Regions from separate parts of the Homo sapiens genome. Here regions 2, 3, 4, 5, 6 and 7 are each linked to region 1. Evidence: promoter capture Hi-C in 16 types of primary human blood cells and fetal thymus (Javierre and others, 2016). All regions are on one chromosome and are shown on one strand. Each heading gives the region's core, a stretch centred on a gene start or on the middle of the fragment in contact. The rest is flanking DNA. Distances are from core to core; before and after follow the strand shown.

Region 1 (2,607 bases), core at 47-2,546:
CTTCTCCACATCCTCTCCACCACCTGTTGTTTCCTGACTTTTTAATGATCGCCATTCTAACTGGTGTGAGATGGTATCTCATTGTGGTTTTGATTTGCATTTCTCTGATGGCCAGTGCTGATGAGCATTTTTTCATGTGTTTGTTGGCTGCATAAATGAACACTTGGACACAGGAAGGGGAACATCACACACCTGGGCATGTTGTGGGGTAGGGGGAGGGGGGAGGGATAGCATTAGGAGATATACTTAATGTAAATGACGAGTTAATGGGTGCAGCATACCAACATGGCACATGTATACATATGTAACAAACCTGCACGTTGTGCACATGTACCCTAGAACTTAAAGTATATTAAAAAAAAAAAAAAGAAGATCATTACTACAGAAGAGATCTTCCACCCTGTGGCAGAACTTCCTTTTATCCCATTCACGGATCTGGTTGCCCACGAAGCAGGCCTGCCATGAAAACATCTGAATGAGCATGCAGAGTCCATTATGGTCAAGAAATGGAAAAATACTTAGTTGTCATGTACATTAATTATTTTTCTTAAACCTTGGGGTAATAGTCCGGGGGCAGGCCTGCTTTTGGGGCCTGTGTTAACCCCACTGTGCTCCAAGCACAGAGAAACACGGTGCAGCCCACAATTCCTTCTGGTTTCTTGAACAAGTGTCTTCTCAGGACTCCTCTCAGTTCCTGAATTTCACAAAACTGCTACCGACGTTTTACCAGTTAGAAAAATGTCCAAAATAGGATAACCCAGAATTGGGGATGGTGGAGGGTGAGGAAAGTATGCTTTGCCAAGAGACCGACATCATGTACAGTGAGAGTAAAAGGAACGGGCTGTTTTACTGGCGAGTAGAAGTTGTTGACTAATGTCAAAGCAAGGAAAAGATTCAAGGATCCGCTATATCCGTGCTTATACTTGGCAAATCGCATTTCTCTGGTTCAGGGCACAATAAATTCCATCACTCCACAGGAAAGACTGCCCTACTAGAGTCAACTGCGGTTGTGGGCACTTTCGCTGACAAGCGAAAAGCCTTGAGGTAGGTGGATGCTCCCAGGAAACTCAGACGTCCGAAGTTCACGAGGAGTTGGGTCGTGAGAGGGGCCAGACCTCGATCCGCGGGGCGACAGCTGCAGTGTCGCGTCGCGAGCAGGAGCTTGGCGGCGTAGAGCGCCAGGGTGCCAACTTCGCTTCCAGGCCTGTGGGTTCCGCCCGGCGCGTGCTGCTGTCAGTCAACGCCCTCGGCCCGCCCCCGCCGAAGCTCCACCAATCGTAGCCGGGGGTCGGAGGTGAGGAGACGTCGCCGGGTGAGGAAGCGGGGGGCTAGCGGCCTGGCGCTGCGGCGACCGACCGGGGCGTCAGGATCCCTGGCCCCCGGAGAGCGAAGGGCGGGCGGGTCCCGGAGGTGAGTGCTGGATGTGGTCTGTGTGCGGACGTCGGGAGGGGCCGCTGCGGGCGGAGCGACCCATTGCCCGGCTCTGCCAGCGCGCTCCTAGACTGCGAAGCCCCTCCCTCCGCGCGCATCTGCTCCCGAGTCCCCAGCCCCGTGCTGATAGGTGCAGCCCCTGGAGTCGTGGCTGTGGGCATAGGTGCCAGGGAGGGGAGGCCCGGGTCGAAGGCATAGGCAGAATTGGAGCCCTGGGTTGCCAAAGCGTCGCAGCTAAGAAGCCGGAGCCCAGGCTAGTACCGGCGGGGCGGGGCGGGGCGGGGCCGGGAGCGAGCATCTCCATCCTCAGTTTCCTCCACTTGCGGCAACGCCACAGCTCGGTACAGTTCGGACCTCCACGCCGCAGCGAAAGACTTCTGTCCTCCAGGCACCTTCACTAACCCGGTGCGGAGCACTTGGCGACGCCTCCCTGCCCATCTCATATCTCTCGGCTCATCGCTGCTCTGGGCACCAGCTGCCTCTTGGCTGGCGCTGCTGTCACACGGTGGACTGTTCTGGCCTTACTGAGCTGCCGTTTGGGGACATCAGATTCAGGTCGTATGGGGAGAAACGAGTGTAACTTTACAAGGTGTGATATGGAGACCCTGGCCTGTTGCCCATTTCTGCCTGATCAAAGGCCACTAGGGTGGTAATAAGAGGGGTTCCGAGGCAGGATTTATGCAGCATTTGTGCAAAATTGTAAATTTTCTTTGCTTTTCATTATTTACATTAAAGGGGGATTGTTGCCACATTTCCTAAAGATAAAGAATCACACTGCTTTGGTGGGCCTCCCCGCTCCTCACTGTGGTTAATTATCATTTGGAACATCAGGATATATTTGAAACTGGCAGGACTCCCAGACCCTGATAATTGTTTGGAGGCAGCAGTATACTATTTCTCCGTAGTGTTTGGGTTCTGCTTTTCTTTGAATTTGTTTAGTATTTTTTTTTCCATGTCTGTTATCCTCACAATCTCTTTGGGGCCAATAGAGTGCTGTTATTTGTTACTGAGAAAGGAAACGAAGGGATAAATCACTGAAGTGGGGTTAGCCTTCCCCATTGCCTGGGAATTGGGTTGTCCTGACCTGACAATTTAAGTTACAATTCAAACATCATTTTGGAAAGGCCATCCTTTTACCAACTGAAACGAATAACAGTCCCTGGCCACTCTATACTA
Region 2 (2,607 bases), core at 73-2,572, 460 kb after region 1:
TTCTGTGACTGCTATAGATTATATGAGTTCTGGAACTGGAGACTCCTTGTGGGCCTGATGAAGTAAGCAGTCATGTTGGAGAAGCCAACACTGCAGGGAGCCTTTAGGAATAATGGGAAGCTTCCGGGACCTGGAGGTGACCTCCAATCAATAGCCAGCAAAAAGCCAGGGCCCTACGTATTATAGCTACAAGGAAGCAATTTCTATCAACAACTTCAATGAATTTGGGTGCAGATTTTTACTCATTTGAGCTTCCAGATGAAAATGCAGCCCAGCAGCTTTGTAAAACCCTGAGCAGGGGACCCAGTTAAGCCATGCCTTGACCTAAGGAAACTGTGAGATAATAAATGTTTTGTTTTAAGCTACTGAGATTGTGGTAATTTGGATTCGGCAATAGAAAACAAATGCCAGCAATTTGGGAATTACGGAATAGATGGCAGTAGGAGCTGCCCTGCTCAGGCTTATGGGGGAAAGAGTTCTTGACTGTATGTTTACCTCCATTTTACAGCTGGAACTAATGACGACGAGCAAGCCGAAACTCATTACTCTTGATTCAATGGTTAGTGAAAAAGATGGGAAGAGAATGTATTATTCTGACTTCTGCTGGAATTCCTTCCAACCCTTCCTGGGGCCATTGATTCTCTTGGAATTGAAGTTCATAGCAGGAGACTTTGCTTCATTAATCCTCACAGCAGAGCTCTAAAAGAAGTCTTCTGGAAGCCTTGTTGGGATTCTGTTTTCTTTCAAATAGAGTCACAGAGTCACAGAGAGATCCCACCTAGCTAAAAGTTACAGTAAAGATTTAGGTAAATAGCTGGGCATGGAATGAATAAGATTAATTATGCTTAGCAGTTATTATAATTACATGCAGGCTTTTGAATATACTGCTTAACATTCCTACACTACTTAAAAAATTATCTATAAAGATCAGTCAAAACTCAGCTTTAAAAAAATGTATTTGAAGGATCTATTTTAAATTTATCAATAATATTTAGGTGAAGATTTTAACACATGTAAATGATTTCAAAAATTCTTTGACCTAACCACTTTCCTCATTTCACAGGTAGAGTTATTGAGTGTGGAAAGATTAAGTGAATTTTCCCACATGGTTACACAGCTAATTCTTACTAATCCAGTTTCCAAGATTAGAGTTTCATATTGTTTTCACCTATAAACTCTACAATAGGGATTTATGGAAGATAGTAACAGTGCACTAAGTTCACACTCCTACCTTAAACAGAACCACATATATCTTAAGCATCTCAGACCCATAATTATCTGTTTTTCTAAATAATCCTAAAGGAGGTAATATTCCTTGGTGCTTTAGCTTCAACTTCAATTAATGTCTACTGGCATTTTAAATAATCATCATCCTTATATTCCTTGGTTAGGTATTGGTTATGGTCTGAGGTGTGGTACAGGCCTGTAAATTCTTTTGTTTTGGGTGGGACCAAGGACAAGGGGATTGAGGTTATATCATCTTTGCCTGAGTTGGGGCACCAGGTAGAAATCTGTTGCAGATGACTTGCCCAAGAGCATACAGCTAATTAGTGACAGGCTTAAAACTTGGAAGCTCTTAAATATCACAACTATTATTTGTTTGTTTGTTTTTCTTGATTTTGTATATTTGCTACTGCTACACTGTTTATCTACCACACTCGGTCATTGCCACAACACAATACACACACACATACACATCTTTGCTCTTCTACTAACTTCCTGGAGTTGGTGGTGGTGCTGATAGTCATGGCATACGTCCACAAAAATATTTTGAATGCTCATAATAGCGGCAGTGTGGTTAAGTAGAAGAATCAGGTTTTGACTTACTACAGGGAAACTGAATCTTCTGAGTCTCAGTGTCCTCATCTATAAGCTGAAAGCAAAGAGTTAATAGTGAGAATAGGTGTGGGAGCCTCCTGGGGCAAGGCTGGGATGGTGGGGTCCAGTGTTTATGTTGCTGGGAGTATGGCTACCTTGGAAGTCGCAAGTGCTTTGTATATTCCAAAGTGTTTCTCTCTCTCTCTCTCTCTCTCTATATATATATATATATATAGTGATATATATAGTGATATATAATGATATATATATTTAGTGATATATACAGTGCTATTGTTACTCCATATCAGGCATTATGATGAATGCAAGAGAAATATTGTCAGATATATAGTCCTTGCATTCAATAAAGGTATACTGTAGTTATAATCTCAGGATATAAAGGGTATAACAGGATGGAATATGCTGAGTGGCCAGTGCATGGCAAAGATAAATACCTAGAGAGAAGTGAGATGGCTATGAAATGGACAATTGAGATGACTATGAAGTGGACAATTGGGAAGACTTTGTGGAGAAGTGATGACTTGAGCTGGGTCATGAAGGACATGTAGCAGACAACAAGGCACCATCTTAGGCAGGTGGAATGCATCAAGCAAAGGCATGGAGGTTGCTCAAGGAGTGGCTAATATACAAAAGAGGAAATGTGACAAATATTTACGGAGTAGAATTAAGTCAGAGCAGATATTTACATCAAAGCTTAGAATTTTATTATGCTGGCAACAGGGAACCACAGGTGACTTTTGAGCAGACGTAGTCTGTCCAAAGTGAACAGCT
Region 3 (2,607 bases), core at 52-2,551, 440 kb after region 1:
AAGGAGGGGATCCAGTTTCAGTTTTCTGCATATGACTAGCCAATTTTCCCAGCACCATTTATTAAATAGGGAATCCTTTCCCCGTTGCTTGTTTTGTCAGGTTTGTCAAAGATCAGGTGGTTGTAGATGTGTGGTGTTATTTCTGAGGCCTCTGTTCTGTTCCATTTATCTATATATCTGTTTCGATACAAGTAGAATGCTGTTTTGGTTACTGTAGCCTTGTAGTATAGTTTGAAATGAGGTAGCATGAGGCCTCTGGCTTTGTTCTTTTTGCTTAAGATTGTCTTGGCTATACGAGCTCTTTTTGGGTTCCATATGAAATTTTAAGTAAATTTTTTCTAATTCTGTGAAGAAAGTCAATGGTAGCTTGATGGGAATAGCTTTGAATCTATAAATTACTTTGGGTAGTATGGCCATTTTCACGATATTGATTCGTCCTATCATTGAGCATGGAATGTTTTTTCATTTGTTTGCGTCCTCTCTTATTTTCTTGAGCAGTGGTTTGTAGTTTTCCTTGAAGAGGTCCTTCACATCCCTTGTAAGTTGTATTCCTAAGTATTTTATTCTCTTTGAAGCAATTGTGAATGGCAGTTCGCTCATGATTTGGCTCTCTGCCTATTATTGGTTTTTCCTTTCCATATTTAGTGCTTCCTTAAGGAGCTCTTGTAAGGCAGGCCTGGTGGTGACAAAATCCCCCAGCATTTGCTTGTCTGTAAAGGATTTTATATTTCCTTCGTTTATGAAGCTTAGTTTGGCTGGATTATGAAATTCTGGGTTGAAAATTCTTTACTTTAAGAATGTTGAATGTTGGTTCCCACTCTCTTCTGGCTTGTAGGGTTACTGGAGAGAGATCTGCTGTTAGTCTGATGGGCTTCCGTTTGTAGGTAAACTGACCTTTCTCTCTAGCTACCATTAACATTTTTTCCTTCATTTCAGCTTGGAGAATCTGATGATTATGTGTCTTGGAGTTGCTCTTCTCAAGGAGTATCTTAGTAATGTTGTCTGTATTTCCTGAATTTGAATGTTGGCCTGTCTTTCTAGGTTGGGGAAGTTCTTTTGGATAATATCCTGAAGAGTGTTTTCCAACTTGGTTCCATTCTTCCCGTCACTTTCAGGTATACCAATCAATCATAGGTTTGGTCTTTTCACATAGTCCCCTATTTCTTGGAGAGTTTTTTCATTCCATTTTATTCTTTCTTCTCTAATCTTGTCTTCATGCCTTATTGCAGTAAGTTGATCTTCAATCTCTGATATCCTTTCTTCCATTTGATTGATTCGGCTACTGCTACTTGTGTGTGCTTCACAAGTTCTTGTGCTGTGTTTTTCAGCTCCATCAGGTCGTTTATATTCCTCTCTAAACTTGTGATTCTAGTTAGCAGTTTCCGTAACCTTTTATCAAGGTTCTTCGCTTCCTTGCTTTGGGTTAGAACATGCTCTTTTAGCTCAGAGGAGTTTGCTATTACCCACCTACTGAAGCCTACTTCTGTCAATTTGTCAAACTAATTCTCCATCCAGCTTTGTGCCCTTGCTGGAGAAGAGTTGTTATCATTTGGAGGAGAAGAGGCATTCTGATTTTTGGAATCTTCAGCATTTTTGTTCTGTTTTTTCGTCATCTTTGTGGATTTATCTACCTTTAATCTTTGATGCTGATGACCTTTTGATGAGGTTTTTGTGTGGGCATCTTTTTTGTTGATGTCAATGTTATTGCTTTCTCTTTGTTAGTTTTTCCTTTAACAATCAGGCCCCTCTTTTGCAGGTCTGCTGGAGTTTGCTGGAGGTCCACTCCAGACTCTGTTTGCCTGGGTATCACCAGCAGAGGCTGCAAAACTGCAAAGATTGCTGCCTGCTCCTTCCTCTGGAAGCTTCATCACAGAGGAGGACCTGCCTGATGCCAGCCAGAGCTCTCCTGTATGAGGTGTCTGTCCACTCCTGCTGGAAGGTGTCTCCCAGTCAGGAAGCATAGGGGTCAGTAACCCACTTGAGGAGGCAGTCTATCCCTTAGCAGAGCTTGAGGGCTGTGCTGGGAGATCTGCTGCTGTCTTCAGAGATGGCAAGTAGGAACATTTAAGTCTGCTGAAGCTGCGCCCACAGCCACCCTTCCCCCAGGTGCTCTGTCCCAGGGAGATGGGAGTTTTGTCTATAAGCCCCTGACTGGGGCTGCTGCCTTTCTTTCAGCGATGCTCTGCCCAGTGAGGAGGCATCTAGAGAGGCAGTCTGGCCCAAGCCACTTTGTTGTGCTGAGGTGAGCTCCCCCCAGTCCGAACTTCCTGGCTTCCTTAACACTGTGAGGGGAAAACCACCTACTCAAGCCTCAGTAATGGTGAATGCCTCGCCCCTGACCAAGCTGGATCACCCCAGGTCAACTTCACACTGCTGTGCTGGCAGTGAGAATTTCAAGCCAGTGATTCTTAGCTTGCTGGGCTCCATGGGAGTGGGACCTACCGAGCAAGACCACTTTGCTCCCTGGCTTCAGCCCCCTTTCCAAAGGGGTGAACGGTTCTGTCTCGCTGGAGTTCCAGGCAACACTGGGGTACAAAAAAAAGACTCCTGCAGCTAGCTTGGTGTCTGCCTGAACAGCTGCCCACTTTTGTGCTTGAAACCCAGGGC
Region 4 (2,607 bases), core at 62-2,561, 420 kb after region 1:
GGGTCTGGCTTCTATATTCAAGGGTTATCAGAAGAGAGTGACTAACGAGGAGATCAGAAGGAACAGCTAGAAATAGATGAAAACCAGGATAAAGGCATGTTGAGAAAGTCAAAGGACGGATGTTTGATTATGGAAGAAGTGGCCAAGGAAGATAAAAGTAAGACAAGACTGGAGGTGGCCTTAGATTTAGCAATGATTGTACCACTTGTTTCTTTTATTAGGGCAGACAAGGGAGCAGTCATAGCAAAAATCAAACTGCTGTAGATTGAAAAATAAAGGAAAGGTAAAATATTCATAATATATGAAGAAAAAAGTCAAATTAAAAATCACATGTCTGGCTGGGTGCAGTGGCCCATGCCTGTAATTCCAGCACTTTGGGAGGTTAAAGTGGGAGGATTGCTTGGGCCCAGGAGTTTGAGACCAGCCTGAGCAACATGGTGAAACTCCACTTCTACAATAAAAATGAAAATGAAAATTAGCCAGATGTGGTGGTTCGCCCCTATAGTCCCACCTACTCTGGAGGCAGATGTGGGAGGATTGCTTGAGCCCCACTGTGATGAGCCATGATAGCAACACTGCCCTCTACCCTGGGCAACAGAGTGAGACCCCATCTCAGAAAAAATCATTTGCCTGTTATAACCCATTGTTATTAAACAATGAAGTTAAAAAAAGAAATATTTACATGGGGGATGGTATTTAAAGCATAATTATTTCTTTTCTAATATCACTTGCTGACTTCTTGTAAAGTCTGGAGGGCTAAGCTTCCCCTAGACTATTATTTTCACTTCTGTGCTGCTTCTACCTGCTTTGGACTTTCAGATCTTGCCTCTGGTGTCCTCTCTGCTCTATACTTGATGGCTGAACTCTGCTTCCGGAGTCTGCTTTTTGGTGCTCTCCAAAGACTGAACAATTACACAGCTCTTGCTCTTCCTGCTTCAGGCTGCTTCAGAAATGTACTCCACCCATCCCACTTGACCCCTGGGACACAGATTCCAGCATAAGAATGTGCCTGTGCCAGCCTGTCCCAGGAGGCAGGTGCACTGCTCTTAGGAGTTATATGATGAAAATATGTATGTTTCTGTGGAAGTATTGCTCATTAGCAAATCAAAGCCCCAGCAAAATTGGTTACTGTAGGAGATAATGTTCCCACAAAATCACTTCCCACTTTTCCATGCTGAGTCACGTCCTGGTTTCATTTTCTCAAGCAGGTAACAACTCCTGTCAATGACACAGAAAATTTTTTTCTTAAATCACTGATTGGAGAGTTTTATACACTTGAAGACAAGTTACGTTTTAAAGCTCAGTCATGGGAGAAGAAGGAAGCCAGGAGTTGATGGGAATAAACGTTTCCACTCACCTCAAACCTTCACAGCACTGCCACTGGTTCATGTGACTTTGGATGAATGCCCAGGCTTTCATTCTGTCATGTGTAAAAGGGAATTGTGATGCCAACCTTACCTGTTGTGAGAAACCCACGTGTTAATGGTTCAAAGGGCTATTAGAGCTGATTGTCCTTAGTAAACCTTCTTCAATTCGACCTCATTTTACTCCCAGAAAGTATCTCACCTTTTTCCTGACAGAGAAGCTCATCCTATGAAAGGGAAATGTTTAAGAAAATATAACCATTTAGTATGAATTGTAATCTCCAACTCAAAATGTTTCTTTACTGTTAGCCTTCCTCTGCTCTTGTGTGATGCTTAGGCCAGCCTGCTGCTACCTTGTCTCGGATTCTGGGAGGTATAATATTTTTGAAAGACTATCCTATGGTTTTTTTTTTTTCCCCATGGCACTTTCTCCTCTTTGTCTCTTACTTGCCTCCATATAAATAACTAGCCCATATGTATTGCCTCAGGAGAGGGAAAAAGCTTTGTTGGGGCTTTTGTTTCTTCATGAGGGCTTAGAACAGGAGTGAGACCAAGACAGAAGCGGCTTGGAAACTAGGGAGGAAAACTTTTCACCCATGGCCTCCCCCACCAGGAAGGATTCCTTGGGCTATCAGAATAAGAAATAAATGAGAAAAGGCAAGGAAGCTTGGGGGGGTTCCTGGAAAAGGTCCTGTGCCAAGCTGGAGGCTTTGACAATAGCTCTAGATAGCTTGGGGGATCTGAGAGGAGAGACAGCCTATACCTCATTTCTCTTCAGAGCAGCTGGTGAGAGAAGGGAAAACAGCTCTGCCATGTGGCTCTAACCAGATGGGATGTTAGACGGCTCCTAGAGTTTCTCACACCGTATTATCATGAGGGAGCAGCAAATGACATCTTTGCAACCAAGAATGGTGGAGAAGGAGTTCCTGAAGGGACCGTGCAGGTGGAAACCAAGGACATTTTTTCAGGTGCCCAGATGGACCAGCCACTGAGGAGGATGTGTGATCTGAGATGGGACAGTAGATGCCAGTGTGAGATGACTCTGAGGTTCAAATGCAAGTGTTCCTTCAATTGCCCACTCCCATCACACACATGTGCACACACACACTAGCCACACACAGGCATGTCAACCACACACACCTTAGTACTAAGTAAGATTGAAGAATTTAGATGAAAATAAAACTTGGAGAGAATTAGGTTACATTTCTACTACCTCAGTGGAATAGGGACTCGAGAAAGAGAT
Region 5 (2,607 bases), core at 55-2,554, 390 kb after region 1:
GCAATCATTGAAAACCTTAAAAACACCTGGAGAAGGAGCCCTAAAAAGACTGGATATGAATGTTGTGCAAGTAGAATGGGAGATTTTGATTATTGTATTTGGGGAGTAATGGGAAGAACATTGTAGACTTGTAACATACTTAATAAAAGGACAGAAAAATTGATTCACCCCAAAAGTACAAAACAACCATCTCCAAAATTATTCTCATCATTTAATTTCATTTGACAACTTCAGAATGCTTGACGCAATGCTTCAGTTACAGCAGGCATTTCTACAGTGGAATTTTCTGTACAATTATGAAATTAACAATGCTTCCCTCCCTTAATGAGTTCAAGTTCTGGGTAGAGGAAACACATCCATACTCAATAGACATTCATGGCCAACTGAAGATCCCAAATTGTCTTAAAATATATAGTTCAGTGGGAAGAAAGAAATGCTTAATTTCCAAGTATCCTTTAAATTGGAAAATAACATTTTTTTTTTTACTTAAATGAACTATAAGCACTTTGTTCTGAATTCTACAGGAATTGTTTTCTACTAATTAATCTTTAATGTATATGTTTAGTGCCTGTGTTCACATTTTTCAGGATGCTTCTGAGAGTCCTAGAGCCCTGTGAATTTATTACTAAGAAATAACCAAAACAGCCCTCAAAATAGTGGTTTTTATTTTTATTTTAAATCAAATAAAGTGCTCTTTATTAAATGATTTTTAGAATCATTAGTCTCCTTTTTCTTCAAATGTCCATGGTATTCATGTTAATTGAACCAGGTCACTCTTTCTCAATGTTTCTAAAAATTTTCCTCTTAGAGATGAGATGCATGTTTTTCTCAAATGATAGTATGATTTATACTTACAATTACTCACAGAAAATCTGGCTATAGACTCCATTGCCAGATTGTTTATTAATGAGTAGATTTTGAGAAAAGATATTTTATTACCATTTTTATGTCTTAGGGACCTCATCATTGAAGCTAAACTTCTAATCTTCCTTACAACATAAAGATAATTTTACTTATTGGAAGCTTATGTAACCTAAAATTTAGATTTTGACAACTGTCTTGCAGTTTATAAATATTATAATAAAGAAATCTATACCAGGATGGTTTAAACTCTTTAACTTATAAACAATAACTGTGAGAATTCTTGGTATGCTCTAGATGACATTCCAGTTGTTCTTTTATGTTTGTAGATGTAAGTCAAGGATCCCTAAGTTATTCTAAAGTCATGCCCATTGTTCTTTGAGTCTTGGCTTCTGATAATGTCTTGATTTGCTTGAAGTACAGTTGGTTTGTTTATTAACCTCCTTATTGTTAAGATGATTCAATTAAAAATGTCCCAGTCATTTGACAACTTAATCAAATAACTTCAGACAGAGATAACATTATTATGAAAATAACTCAGGGTAATTAAATGTAGAGGGACTGAGTAGCCCCTTCAGATAAAGTCATCGTGGGAGATCTCTGAATAGAGGACATTTCAGCTGGGATCTAAACGTCAAGCATGAGGTGGTCTCTCAAAGAAAAAATGGAAAGAAAAGCATTCCAGGAGGAAGGAAGCAGAAATATAAAGGCCATCAGGTAGGAATAAGCTTTGTTTGCTTGAGGAATGACAAGGAGGCCAGTGAGATGACTAAGGTGGGAGAAGTCGCCAATGCTATATGAAAAGTGGACACGGCCAGATTACACTCAGCCTTGCAAGCTGCGAGGATTATATTATATTATATTATATTATATTATATTATATTATATTATATTATATTATAATTTTAGAGACGGAGTCTCACTCTGTCGCCCAGGCTGGAGTGCAGCGGCGTGATCTCGGCTCACTGCAACCTCCACCTTCCAGGTTCAAGTGATTCTCCTGCCTCAGTCTCCCAAGTAGCTGGGACTACAGGTGCCTGCCACGATGCCCAGCTAATTTTTGTATCTTTAGTAGAGATGGGATTTCACCATGTTGGCAAGGATGGCCTCGATCTCTTGACCTCGTGATTCGCCCACCTCAGCCTCCCAAAGTGCTAGGATTACAATGTGAGCCACTGCGCCTGGCTGGAGTTCTGATTTTATAAGCATGGAATCACATGTCCAAGATATGGTCGAGTGAAAAAACCATGCTTCAAACAGTCTGAATAGAAAGATCCCCTTAATATAAAATTGTATATTCATTTCCATATGTGTCTGTAGGCACGGAGATACATTGGGGCATATGTTCAGAGAAATGCTAACATTGGAAACATCTGAGGGCTGAACTTCAGGTGACAATTATGTTCCTTTTGTATTTTTCTGTACTGTTTGAATTGTTTACCAAAACAACAAAGCCATATCAAATATGCATACATAAAAAATGAGCCACGGTCCTCTTTGACTAAGATTTAATGTTAAGACAATATTGACATTATTGTGGCTTCCAGACTCACACAAGATAGAAAAAAAATGGATTTATAAAGAAAAGTTTGTTGGATTTTATTAATAAATGTAACAGTAAAATAACCTATGCTTTTTGGGGGAGTTTTCAATGATTATGGAAGATACAAAAAGCACCAAAAAACCTAGAGTGCACAGAACATGAACAATCAAGAAAATTCCCTTATTATGTACCAAAATAGAATT
Region 6 (2,607 bases), core at 53-2,552, 360 kb after region 1:
ATGACTAAACTTAGACTAAGTAACGTATTCAGGGTCACCTAATTTCCAACTTCCTCAGTGGGTGTGGCTCTAAAGCTCGTACAATTTCCGCTATGTTCACTGCTACTCATAGGAACCTGGGAAATGGAGATGAGTAGAAAGACAACCCTGCAAGCTCAGAAATTAATATTGACGTTCCATAGAAGTGCTCCTAAATGGTAATCCGAATTCTGGGCTGCTGCTGGAAAATAGCCTTTTGTCTCGAAAACCCAGTTAGAGCCTTCCACCAATTACATAGGCTTTACGAGATAGGGAGGATGGAGGATAGTAGGATGCTGGACTGAAAAGCACTTTGTGGTGGTCTACCTTGGGACCTCTGGTCAGCAGCTACTGGTTGTTCCTTCTTTTTCCTTCTCCTCCCTCATTTTCCCCATTAGAATGTAAGCTTCTTGAAGGAAAAGGGCTTGTTTATTGCTGTATAACTAGAAAGGATAGTGCCAGGCACATTCAACAATATTTGTTGAAAGAATGAAAAACTGAATGAAAAAGTATTTGGCAGCTCTCTGAAAACCAGCTACTTCTGACACCTAGAAACCCAGGTAATCTATTGTGTATCTGATGTTTATTGATTGCCCTGATCTTACCACTGCCATGTAACAGGAAAATCCTGCCTTCTACTAGGGAGTTGCTGAGACCCCCTAAACAGGCAAAGAACCAAAGACACCATCAGTTTCCTTGCTTCTTAGATTTACAGGGATTACAGGTATTGAGCTCGAGGGCTTGGTCCCCTGTGTGTGTCTAATCTTCAAGACTCGAGCGCCTCCTGATTTCTCAGTGAAAGAGGAAGCACCCCGATGACATCCATCACATCTTTTCCAGGAGCCCTTTTTGTATGATAAGCATTTTGTTCTTGCAGTAAATCTCAAGTTTGTTTCCTCGCTGTGTCTGGCCAATCTCTAGACAAACCTTACTTCTAGCCTTACTTTTCCTGATTGAAACTTCCCCATTCTAAAAACCAAAACCCCAAAACCAAAATCAAACCCATCAACAACAAAATATTGGTGCAGTCATAGTTCTGCACCATTATTAGAAGCATAGAAGCAAAAGTCCTATGGTAGAAGTTTCCTTGACATCTGGTTTTTATTCATTAGGCAGGAGTCCTGACCTGACTTTTGTAAGATTTCTTGTAGATAAACTATTTTTATGGCACTGAGAGAAAACAAATACATATCCTCCATAACTTAAATAAAATAAAAATGTAAACTTCAAATATTCACAGGAAGGAGACGCCCAGTGCATTCTCTAGATCTTGTGTACTTACCTTTCTATAGAATCTTGTAAATACGGAGTCCGGTTTTTGATGTGCCAGGTTTTCTTTCACTATTAAATTGCTTTAGGAGAATTTTGTAAATGGACATAAACAACAGGTATACATACACCTGTTGGTGTAAATGAACAGCGCCTTCTGGAAGGAGGGCTCCTAATGAGTTAGTCCTTGAGCCCTGGGCTGGGATACCCTCTTCCCTGAGGCCAGTCTCCCAGCCAGGGTTGTAAACCAGACCCCAGCACCAAAACCACTGGCTTTGTAAGCAGAGTAGTAAGTTTCCTAATTCCTTCCCAAGAAAAATGTGATGGTCCTCTGGGAGTGGTTTGAAAAGCATTTCTCAGAGTAATTTAGTGGGTGGGAGCTTAGAAGGGAGAGCAATTACTTTGTTGATTGAATGAGGATGTTTGAGGCAACATATACCTGTAACAGTGTAAAGACACGTCAAGGATGTTGATTTTTCTAGGTTGTCAGTGAGTTTGTCTTCATGCTTGAATGAAGTGCGCTGACATGCAGAGAACAGAGTTATATGACTAATTTCAGTTTATTGGTAATGTGAAGGTAGCAATAGGAATGCTTTTATGACATTGCATGATTTCAAGTTGTATTCAATTATCTTTACATATTTAACATTTCTCTCATTAACATGCTCATTCTGTCTGGCTTCTCTCTTTTTCTTTCTTTAGTTTTGCTGTTCATATCAGCACAAAAAATGTATTAATTTTTTTCTACAATAGAAGTAAATTGTTTTACTTTCTCTCTGCACATACTGTGTGACCATAATGTACTTCAAAGAGGGAAACAGAAAAAGGAAATTAATCATAACATCTGTTTGTTTCTAAGGTGCTTATAAATAATGGAATTTCTGTGAATAAAATAAGCTTTAGCTTAAAAATCTAAAAAAATCAATGCTCTTGGAAGATACACCCTGCATACTCTGTGGCTTTGGGTATCTACTGGTCTACCATCACATATTCCCAGAGGTACAAATATCTCACGCTTAAAAATAACTAGAAAGTGTATTTGTTGAATGAATAAATGATAGGAACTTAAGAGGTGGGAGAAAATGTAGAGGTTAGACATACAATTTCTCTATAATTCAGGTATTCCTTCTGTAGTATTCTTGACAGCCATTCTCTCAGCCTTTATTTACAGTGATGGGCAGATTGCTACCTCACAAAGGAGTTCAATGTCTTTTTTGTTATTTATTTATTTATTTTTAACTAGTAGACTATTATTTTTAGAGAAGTTTTGGGTCACAGCAAATCTGAGTGGAAAATACAGAGATCTCCCATGTACTCTTC
Region 7 (2,607 bases), core at 40-2,539, 340 kb after region 1:
CAGAATGAATATTGTTTCCAGTTCCTAATGAGGGTCTCCTCCAAATACGTACTCTAGGAAGGAAGAAGGCATGTGTTTCCAGAGTCTACACAGGTTATGTTCTCTACCATATGTTCTCCCCCTGCCTTGACCTACTCATTCAGATAGACTGAATCAACTGACTCCTTCCAAATGGCACATACAAGGAAAGTTTGTGTTTTCTACCACGCTAAGAATTGAACTAATCAACACCTTTGTGATTTTCCTTTTTACTTGGAGTCCTTAGAGGCTTTGTTCCATGCCAGTCTCTCCTGGCTGCTATGGCCCCGGTGCTCTGGCTTCAAGGCTCAAGACTGGGTGGACTTTCTGGGCTCACTGGCTTCTGGCTCTGCTCTCCCACTGCCACTTCCCAAGCACCCCACTAGGCTCAGCTACCTGTACGGTTGGAGGTGATCTCTGAGCAAGTATGGGTATTGGTCATGCACTGCCTTCCAAAGATGGAAGAACCTCACATATGGGCGACACTACTCTACTCCTCTTTGCTCCCTAAAATTACCTTTGTCTCCTGCTAGGAACTGGGATAAACCATGTTATATATTACTTTCAAGTTTTCCTTTACTTACGCTGTTCCTTCTTACCTTTCATTGATCGGTTAATTCCTAATTATTTTCTAAGACTTGGCTCAGGCATTGTATTCTAAGCATGTGTCCTATTGGGTTAAAAACCCCTCCTCTGTGGCCCAAACAGCACCCCAGAAGTACTTCTGTTTAATTACCTATCATAAAGTACTAAATGATGTGTTTACTTCTCTCTTACTGGACAGTGAGTTCTCCAGTGGCAGGGATTTTATCTTATTTATCTTTTTACTTTCCATGCTTGATGCATATGAGAAAGTCTATGAAAGTCTGATGAGAGACTCCTATTCAATTCAACATTTCAACCTATTGATTCATTAAAAATTTACTGAGGGCCTGCTGTACACCTGAGGGCCTGCATAATCATTAGGACCAGCCTTAATTCAATTCAAATCTGTTCTAGGTCTTGGCTGAATCCGCATTTTTAAGCAAGCACTTCAGGTAATAGGCAAGAGAAACACGATGACCCGAACCATTGCAGCTCACCAGCCTTGCCTTGGATATGTTAACTCTGTAAAAACACCTTTAAGGAATGTCTCCATCTAGAAAATAAAGGGGTTGCATGGCATCAGACATTTCTAAATTGTGTTCCCTGAAGTGTTGCAGGGGTTGGTGAGAGGAATGAGGATGAGAAATTATTGAGTTGACCTTTGTCTGTTTCCCCCTTCCCCTGCTCCCGCTTCTACCAGAGCATCTCCTCTTTTATCTGTTTTATATATTGAAGGTTCTAGATAATATTTCATTTGAAGAGGGATTTGTTGCTTTTAAATAAGTTTTTAAAATTTTGATAAAAATTACGTATTTTCCAAAGGCCTTTCTGCTTCTAGTGTTCTAAGAATTTAAGGGCTTTTTGTGTTCAAAGTACTGTGTGGGGCACAGGGCACAATAGGGCATGTGAAGATGAAGACATTGCCTTTGACCTCCCTGGAACTGACAATTTAGCAGAAGAAACAGACTTGCGTTAATGATATCAGGAAATCTGAATAAAGGTAGTGGAAATAAGGGCGGGGAAGAGAGTACTAAGTGTGAGCTGCCTGTGGGAATCACCCATAAATGCAAGCCTGGTTGTATGGTCCCTATCCAACCCCATCCTAATAGCCTGATTGGTGACTGGGACCTTTCCCAGGTCTTGACACAAGGCCCTTTCTGCTTCCCAATTGACTTTGACACCCCAGTTCTTAGCTTCTTGCTTTGATTTTTATTCCTCCATGGGATGTTTAGTCAGATATATTCCATGTTCTTAGCATGTTCTTTATTAAAAATGTAGATGCCACATGTCTTGGCAATTTTAATTAGAAGTTGGGTACTATAAAGACATAGAATTTGCTCCAATGTCAAGAGCTTCAGAGATGAGAAATAATGACAGCTAAAGAATACCAGATTTATAGATTTTGGTATCCCTGGCCACCCTGCTACCTTAGATGGCTTGATTACTCTGTCTCACCCAGCAGAATTGATTCTCCATGGTTTCAATGTAGGCTCTGCCATTAATCATCTTTGGTCTTTGGGTTGACATTTCACTTCTCTTGGCTTCAGCTTCTTCTATGTACAAATAGGTTATATGTTATTCTATTATATGTTTTCTTTTTGTCATGCATTTATTTAATCTAAATTTCCAATTTTTAAAATATGCAACATAGTCATACACTTTAAAAATCACATTGTTAACATATTTACCATAAGTAACATAGTTACTTGTCTTGTTCTGTTTAAGCTGCTATAACAAATTACCTCAGACTGGGTAATTTATCAACAACAGAAATTTGTTTTCATAGATCTAGAGACTGAGGAATCCAAGATTAAGGGACCAGTAGATGCAGTGTCTGATGTGGGCCCATTCTTCATACATGGTGCCTAACATAGCAGGAGGGACAAACAAGCTCTCCTGGGCCTCTTTTATAAGGGCACTAATCCCATTCATGAGGGAAGAGCCCTCATAACCTAATCACCTGCCAGATACCATACCTGCCAACAACACTGCACTGGAGATTAT

What was found. The method cuts DNA at HindIII sites, captures the fragments that hold promoters and counts their contacts. A CHiCAGO score of 5 or more calls a contact.
Region 2: a fragment that was not itself captured here is called in contact with the fragment with the promoter of NXPE3 in region 1 in 1 of 17 cell types (total B cells); the score reaches 6.5 in total B cells.
Region 3: a contact is called between a fragment that was not itself captured here and the fragment with the promoter of NXPE3 in region 1, in 11 of 17 cell types (naive CD4 T cells, non-activated CD4 T cells, activated CD4 T cells and 8 more). The highest score is 12.2, in naive CD4 T cells.
Region 4: a contact is called between a fragment that was not itself captured here and the fragment with the promoter of NXPE3 in region 1, in 5 of 17 cell types (naive CD4 T cells, endothelial precursors, total CD4 T cells and 2 more). The highest score is 7.5, in naive CD4 T cells.
Region 5: a fragment that was not itself captured here is called in contact with the fragment with the promoter of NXPE3 in region 1 in 1 of 17 cell types (activated CD4 T cells); the score reaches 5.3 in activated CD4 T cells.
Region 6: a contact is called between a fragment that was not itself captured here and the fragment with the promoter of NXPE3 in region 1, in 1 of 17 cell types (non-activated CD4 T cells). The highest score is 5.3, in non-activated CD4 T cells.
Region 7: a contact is called between a fragment that was not itself captured here and the fragment with the promoter of NXPE3 in region 1, in 2 of 17 cell types (naive CD4 T cells and non-activated CD4 T cells). The highest score is 6.6, in naive CD4 T cells.

Annotation. Positions count from the first base shown.
Region 1 is chr3:101,777,915-101,780,521 of GRCh38, forward strand. NXPE3 (neurexophilin and PC-esterase domain family member 3) reads left to right here and starts at 1,297. Exons shown (of 8, transcript NM_145037.4): 1 at 1,297-1,410. RefSeq lists enhancers at 1,111-1,405, 1,970-2,019 and a silencer at 1,210-1,559. The HindIII fragment of the contact is 3,350 bases long and covers 1-2,607 here.
Region 2 is chr3:102,242,289-102,244,895 of GRCh38, forward strand. No RefSeq gene overlaps it. Among named protein-coding and RNA genes, the nearest start is that of ZPLD1, 190 kb to the right of the region's middle. The HindIII fragment of the contact is 2,409 bases long and covers 119-2,527 here.
Region 3 is chr3:102,220,605-102,223,211 of GRCh38, forward strand. No RefSeq gene overlaps it. Among named protein-coding and RNA genes, the nearest start is that of ZPLD1, 210 kb to the right of the region's middle. The HindIII fragment of the contact is 1,117 bases long and covers 744-1,860 here.
Region 4 is chr3:102,194,433-102,197,039 of GRCh38, forward strand. No RefSeq gene overlaps it. Among named protein-coding and RNA genes, the nearest start is that of ZPLD1, 240 kb to the right of the region's middle. RefSeq lists an enhancer at 273-1,472. The HindIII fragment of the contact is 1,104 bases long and covers 760-1,863 here.
Region 5 is chr3:102,171,796-102,174,402 of GRCh38, forward strand. No RefSeq gene overlaps it. Among named protein-coding and RNA genes, the nearest start is that of RDUR, 230 kb to the left of the region's middle. The HindIII fragment of the contact is 566 bases long and covers 1,022-1,587 here.
Region 6 is chr3:102,134,602-102,137,208 of GRCh38, forward strand. No RefSeq gene overlaps it. Among named protein-coding and RNA genes, the nearest start is that of RDUR, 200 kb to the left of the region's middle. The HindIII fragment of the contact is 1,760 bases long and covers 423-2,182 here.
Region 7 is chr3:102,115,722-102,118,328 of GRCh38, forward strand. No RefSeq gene overlaps it. Among named protein-coding and RNA genes, the nearest start is that of RDUR, 180 kb to the left of the region's middle. The HindIII fragment of the contact is 5,490 bases long and covers 1-2,607 here.